2 separate regions of the Homo sapiens genome follow, and region 2 is linked to region 1. Evidence: promoter capture Hi-C in 16 types of primary human blood cells and fetal thymus (Javierre and others, 2016). All regions are on one chromosome and are shown on one strand. Each heading gives the region's core, a stretch centred on a gene start or on the middle of the fragment in contact. The rest is flanking DNA. Distances are from core to core; before and after follow the strand shown.

What was found. The method cuts DNA at HindIII sites, captures the fragments that hold promoters and counts their contacts. A CHiCAGO score of 5 or more calls a contact.
Region 2: a contact is called between a fragment that was not itself captured here and the fragment with the promoter of CELF4 in region 1, in 1 of 17 cell types (non-activated CD4 T cells). The highest score is 5.2, in non-activated CD4 T cells.

What each region holds. Positions count from the first base shown.
Region 1 is chr18:37,563,858-37,567,475 of GRCh38, reverse strand. CELF4 (CUGBP Elav-like family member 4) reads left to right here and starts at 1,678. Exons shown (of 13, transcript NM_020180.4): 1 at 1,678-2,120. The coding sequence starts at 1,835. It overlaps LOC124904288 (a long non-coding RNA gene), which reads right to left and starts at 1,199. Exons shown (of 2, transcript XR_007066345.1): 1 at 1,087-1,199; 2 at 788-897. RefSeq lists an enhancer at 1,631-2,134. The HindIII fragment of the contact is 19,532 bases long and covers 1-3,618 here.
Region 2 is chr18:39,550,155-39,553,772 of GRCh38, reverse strand. The region is part of intron 2 of MIR924HG (MIR924 host gene); the gene reads left to right. Among named protein-coding and RNA genes, the nearest start is that of MIR924, 70 kb to the left of the region's middle. The HindIII fragment of the contact is 225 bases long and covers 1,760-1,984 here.

The DNA.
Region 1 (3,618 bases), core at 429-2,928:
AAAATCTGCTACCCCAGCCAAGTTCACCACCAGTATTCACCCCTACAGGCGGGGCCGCTCGGACCCTGCTCCCGGCTCCGCGCCTGCCACTCCCTTTCCCGCGCAGCCGAGATGCCAGCCCCAGTGGGCCTGGCGGGGAGTCCGGCGGGGTCCGGACCGGGCGGCTCGACCCCCGGTCCCCACGGCAGGAACGACTCAGCCTCGCACCTCGGGAGCTGTAGGTGCCGAAAACGAAACCCGCGGGGGCAGCGCACGCCGCGCGAGTCTCGGTCCGGCGGCAACCCAGATAGCGATTCAGGGGCTTTATTCTTTTGATGGTGATTAAAAAAATATATTCTATTTGAACCCGTAAAGCAGACGAGGGCAAATCAAGCCATCCCCCGCGCTGGCTCACCGGCCACCGCGCCCAGCGCCTTCCTCCCCCTCCGGCGGGCGAGCGGGCAGGGGCGCCCGACTCCTACCTTCCTCCCGCCAGCCACCGGGGGACCAGCCGCGCTCTCCGGGGCGGGGGAGGCCGCCCGGGACGGGGACCCCCACCTTCCGCCTTCGGAAGCGGGTTGGGGCGGGGGTCGGACCCCGAGTCTCTACTCCCCGTCCCTCTGCCCCCCGGCGCGGCCCGACAGCTCCCAGCCCCATCCTGGCAGGTGGCTTGGGTGGCGGTAGATGCCGGGCGGGAGGAAGATGTGGGGCTGCTCTGGCAGGTTGGGGGTGCGAGGAGGAAAAAAAAACAGAGAAAGACACACACAGAGAGACAGGGAGAGAGCGCGCGCGAGAGAGCTCTTGTCTATAGATTTATCCACATAATATATATTTATGTAGCTTTTTTTCTCTCGACACTGATGAATGCGCGCTCGGATCCCCGGGCGGACTCCCTCCAAGCCGGCTCGCTTTTCTAGTCTAAATAAATAAATAAAGCCAGATGGAAGAAAAAAGCGCCCATTCCACCTCCGCCGCCGCCCCGCCCGCCATCCCTGCCTTTGCTTCGCCCGCCTGGCGCCCTAATAGAGCATAGCTTGGTGGATAAAGCCCCCCTACATACCCACACGAAAATAAAAATCACTATTTTTAAAATACAAAAAGTTGCACCTGCTGCTATTACAAAAAGAACCCCCAAAAGGCAAAGAGAGGAGGCCGGCTGCCCGGCTCCTCACGGACACCCGCTCCCCGCGGCCGCCGGGCCCGGAATCTCAGCGCCTCCCGAAGAGCCATGCGCCTGGCGCTATTTATAGCCGGGGGCCGTCTCGGACTGTACCATCGCCACGGCGCGGGGCCGCCGACGGGGGAGGCGCGGTGGCCGCCGCCCCACGCCGCCCTGCCCCCGGCCGCCGCCCGCCGTGGCGCGGGCCCCCACAGCGCGCCCATTCCCGGCCCCCCGCGCCCTCCTCCGCGCGCGCACACTCGCCACCCCCACCCCTGGTCTGGCTGGGAACTTGAACCGGTCCAGCCTGTTTAAACGGAAAGGACAGAGATCCTGTCTGTTCAATGTAAAAAAAAAAAAAAAAAAAAAAAAAAGAAAAAAAGAAAAAAAAAATCAGATCAGACCGAGAGAGAGAGGAGAGAGGGAGAGAGAGAGGGAGAGAGAGAGGGAGAGAGAGAGGAGAGGGAGGGAGGGAGAGAGAGAGGGGGGAGAGCAGAGAGAGAGCGCGAGCGCGAGCGAGCGAGAGAAGAGGAGAAAGAGAGAGAGCAGAGAGCGAGCGGAGAGCGAGGTGTAGAGAAACCGAGGGGGAGAGAACCCGAGTGTGTGTATGCGTGTGCGTGTGTGAGCGCGAGCGAGCGAGAGAGAGGAGCGAGAGAGTGTGAGCGAGAAAGAATAAAAGGAAAGAAGATTTTCTCTATGTATATAAAGATGGCCACGTTAGCAAACGGACAGGCTGACAACGCAAGCCTCAGTACCAACGGGCTCGGCAGCAGCCCGGGCAGTGCCGGGCACATGAACGGATTAAGCCACAGCCCGGGGAACCCGTCGACCATTCCCATGAAGGACCACGATGCCATCAAGCTGTTCATTGGGCAGATCCCCCGCAACCTGGATGAGAAGGACCTCAAGCCCCTCTTCGAGGAGTTTGGCAAAATCTACGAGCTTACGGTTCTGAAGGACAGGTTCACAGGCATGCACAAAGGTGAGTACACCTTTCCCTCCCAACTTTGCCGGGGAGCAGGAGCGGGCTGGCGGGCCGACCGGCCGGCCGGCGACTGACGAGCGGCGGACTAAGCGAGAGGAAGCCTCGGGCGGGCGCGGTGGAGGGAGGCGCTCGGGCAGCGGAGACCAGAGCTGGGGTGCGTGGGGAGCTGTTCGCTGGGGCAAGACTGGGTTTTGGGCGAGGTGCTGATAGGAACGATGCCATGGAGAGAGCAGCGGGCGCCGATGAAGAGAAAGAGAGAGGGGATCGAGGAGACGGGGCTTGGATTTTTGGGTACAGCGACCTGAAAGATGGGGATGGGGAAGGCTGCACCGGTCGAGCCCAGGACGCTGAGCGGACGGACTCGCGGGCTCCTGGCCGGCCGAGGACCGAGGGTGCTGTCCATCGCCGTGGTGCTGAAAATACTAAAGGAGGTGGTCTCCTCATCCTTTGCTCCGGGCTAGAGTAGCAGGAGCGCAGCCGTCTAAAAGGGAGAGAGGTGACAAATTCAAAGAGAAATTTTTATTTAAATGTAACAGTAAACTCTCCCTGTCGAGCTGTGTGCCTCAATAATCTGATTGTGGTGTGAATGGTGGTGTGTGTTGGGGGTGGGGGGGTTGGATGTTTGAAGGAACCAGTGATAAAACCTAAGGCAAGAATTAGCAAGGAACCAGCCATCCCCTGGGTGGAGTGGGGGGTCTGGCAAGCCTGGATAGTCCCCTTCCCAGGAAAGCGGGGCTTTGGGAAAAAAATATGTGTGTGCGAGATTTGCATTTTGAAAGGTGTACCCTAATTTATCCCAAACTCACCATGCAGAGAGCTTTATAGTACATTATTTCTCCCTTGAAGCGATCATTGCCAGTGAGTGCTTGGGGGAGGGGGAGACAGAATAATCAAAGAATTAAAACACAGCAACTTTTTAGGAAAGTGGTCATGGGAATTGTCCGCAGCCTGCCTGTTTTCTCCTTGTTTTATTATCTTTAAAGCAGAGCCCCAAACGTGTTCAGTTGTAGAATGTGTGTGGGTGGCTGGTGGGTGACGAAATTAGCCCAGTGCTCCGCTTCCTAACAGTAATATATAGGATGTGCAGCGGGAATGAATCGGTGCTGGATCTATGTGGGCAAGTTAAATGCTTTCTGAGAGAGATTGATCGCCAGGCAGGGAAGGAGCACGGGGCTAAGGAAGTTGTAGGGGATGTGTATGGATGTTCCGTTTTTAATAAACAGTAGTGTGGAGAGCCGCCGAAGATGCTGTTACAGCTGGTGGTTTTAAAGATGAAAACACACGCACACCCACCCCCACATAGAGAGCAGCCTCATCCTTGGCCACAAATGGGCTATGGACACAGCTGATCCTCCAGCACATTAGGTGCAGAGCGCAGAGCTGTCTGGCTCTCTAAGCAGCAGCGATTTTCACTATCACAACCACCCTCTTTCTCCAGCCCTCCCTTCGTTCGAATACTAAACAGAGCTCCAAACTCTTCATAGTTGGAGTCCCA
Region 2 (3,618 bases), core at 623-3,122, 2.0 Mb before region 1:
ATATGCTGTTAGCAATGGGAAACAAAATAATTTATAGAGAAGAGATGAGTTGGTAAACATTTTCTTTTTGATGAAGGTTTGTGGGGAGCCCTCAAGAGGAGATTAGTTTTTTCTATTATAATGCCTCTGAACATCTCAGTGAGAGGAATAGGTTTAGATAAAAAATTTAGTAATTTGTTTGATTGTAAAGTGTAGACAGCTCTTTCAAGATGTATGAATGAATATTAAAGTAGACAAGGTGGAGTCAAAAGAAATAGCATGGTTCAGAGTGAAATTTTCTGGAACAGGAGAGAGCTGAGCTTTGCTGTACTTGACAGAGAGAAGTTGACTTGGAAGAAAAATGACAAAACAAGCAACAGTGAAACACAGTCCTACGTGAATAGTAGAAGTGTCACCATGCAAAGATGAGATTGAACAGTAAACTTGAATAGTAATACAAAAAGGGTTGGTTGGGATGGAGAAAGAGTTAAAGTGGGATTTCAGGGTGGAATTGAGCTCCCACTTTCATCAGATGTTTCAATATCTCATTAAAGAAAGTTACATGATATTTGCTGAGTATTGTATGAATTTACATACATTTATAGTGGGTTTATAAAGAGGAGATGCTTTGACACAACCAGAGTGTATGTAAAACTTTCATGTGATATGTTTTAGTTAACAGTTTCTTTGCTGACCCTGCTAGACACTACAAGAAAACACATTTTCAGAAACATGTCATTGAACAATGCTGGTTTAATGAAGTCATCCAGCTGAAGTTTACACAAGTTGTAAGTCTCGCAGTGAGGTGACACTTCAAGGAAATGTACCTGTAGCTATAAGCCATGTAACTATTTGATGTGGTGTTTTTGTATAGTGAGAGAATCCAAATTCTAGCATGAGCTTGTAAAATAATGACCATCTCTTAATCTTTTCCTGTCTTACACAACTTCAAACCTTGTGTTACATACACACTCTGGACCTTCTCTTTTATTGCCCAGGAAATTTTCTATATTTATTAACTATCTTTGGAATAATTTCTACCTCTTCAACTACCCCAAACTCTTAACTTTCTTTTAAGAGCACATACTTATAACCTTTAAGTGGCAGTTTTTCATTCTTCCAGGAGCATTCTCCAGGACCAATAGTAAGCTCACTGGGATGCAACACTTATACTGGCTCATCCTCCTGAGGCCACTTCCCTGAGTTCACTTTCTTGGAAGCCATTCCCAAATTATACCACCCTCATTGCCTGTCACTGTCACCAATGATGTTCAAGTCACATCCACAAAATCAATGAAGGTTGTGATAACTTTCTTGCTACCCATTCTTATTTGTGTCACAATCCCAAGAGAATTTAATATTCATAATTATGTTCTTTTAGTAACTCTGGGCTTTGAGTGTGATTCCAGCTGGATTTCCTATTTACTACTACTTTGGTGTTCCCAGATTAGGTATACACCTCCTCTTGAAGTATTTCTAAGTCTTCTCTTCAGCTCAGCTCATAAACTGCATGCACAGTAATATACCTAACACCTATGATCCTACTATTACCCCCAAATGTCCTATGGATCTCCATCATATATTAGAACACATTAGTGATACCACTTAGCAAGAAACCAAAGGCCCTTCACAATTTTGTTTTGACCTTTCGTATCAACTTCCCTGAAAACACCTTTTCCTCTAGAAATAAGATTGTTCACTTTATGTTCTCTGAGTAAACTGTGAACTTTCATGCCTCCATGGCTTAGCACATTTTGTATTTTTCCATCAGATCTAAGCTTTCCTTCATTTTTCTCTCTTCGTCTATTCCGGTTCTTCTGGACTGGGCTTCAGTGCCCCACATTTAACCTTTCTCAGATCTCCACTTCTAACCTAACCACGCTTGTGCTTCATTGTGACTTCACAGAACATGGCTTATGTCTCTCTCTTCCCCTTATTATGGTGAATTCATAAATAAAATAAGCATGCAATACTGACTTAGTGAAAACCTTCCTTGGCCCAAGCTTCCACATTTATGAAATAAGAGAATTAGAATAGTTAATACCTAATTCCTTTTAGCTCATTTTTTTTTTTTTTTTTTACTATTTCAACAAAACAGACTATTGAACTTTTATCATTTTGCGTTTACCAACTACTTCCTCTAAATAGTTTCTATGGCACTTGTATTGAAATGCCTGACCAGCTTCCTTTATCTAGTTTCTGTTTGTTGAGAGTTTGTTGTATACAAAGCACAGTATGAGGGGTATGTGTGTGTGTATGTGTGCATAAAGTCATGGGCCATAACTTCAAATGATAAATATGATTAAAAATCAGTTCAATGTAATTCTCTGGGCCATCTCATTTACATGGACTCACTGGCTTTACAGACACTGCCTATTCTTTCTGTAAAACATACTCTGGAGTCCTACAGTGGAATGAAACTCCTACCAATTGAGTTGTATATTTCTCAAGAGTCAATTGTGTTCATCACCAAGTCAGCTTATACTCATTTAACCTGATACTCAAATTTCATAATTATATGTTTGATATACTGATGTATGTTCGATAAACTAATGAAAGATATATACAAAAAGAGAGTTAGTATTTCTATGGAAAATAATTTAATTTGAATGCCTGTCATGAACATACCCTAAAGTGAACCCCAGTGACTCATGCTCTTATATAATCTCTTACTTTTAAGTGCAGGTGAAAGCTATGACTTGCTTCTAACCAATGGAATTTGACAAAGGTGATGAGATACCACTTTCTTGATTAGGTTATGTTGTATAGTAAAACTGGTGGCATGTTTCTCCCACGATTGTATGATATTACCTAAGATTCTGCTCAGCATACTGAAGATAGAGCTTCTTCTGCTGACCTTGAAGATGCCATGTTTCTCCATGTGTTGGAGAGAGCCATTTGGCAGGGAACAGTGGGCAGCCTCTAGAGTGGCGTCTAGCCAACAGTGAATAGGAAGCATGGAACCTCAGTCAAAAAGCTTCAAGGAAATGGATTTGGCCAAGAACCTGAAGAAGCTTGAAAGGACTCCCCCCTAGCTGGGAATTAGATGAGAATGCTATCTGGCAGACATCTTGATTGCAGCCTTGAGAGGGTCTGAGTAGAGGCACCAGTTAAGTGCCAGGAGCCCTGCCCTATGAAAACTGTGAAGTAATAAATAATTGTTGTTTTAAGCTGCTAAATTTACAATAATTTATTATTCAGCAACATAAAACTAATACAATGCCTTAGAAAGGCTCGTTAATGTCAATTTATTAGCCACAAAAAAGAGCCAACACATAAACTTGCTGTCAAATTTAGTCAAGGCAGGACAACAATAAATGTTTGAGGGGGTACAAACTATAAATGTCTATAAAAAGTATTCCTTTAGATTCTCATACAAATGTATTTAGGAGGTTGCTCCATTTTAAAGAATCTCCATATAGAATATAGTGATGTTTATTCAAGAAAAATAATGATAAACTACAATCATCAGTTCTGTACTCAAAAGATTTGTCAGTACTAAAAGAATAATAATTTTATGTATCTCTGTTTTAGGTTAGCATAAAAATTTAGAATATATCCTTTTAAAAATTATTTGATACTTTAACTTTTTCAATTAGCAAACCAACAACAGGTATTGATTGTATTGCATAAGATAGT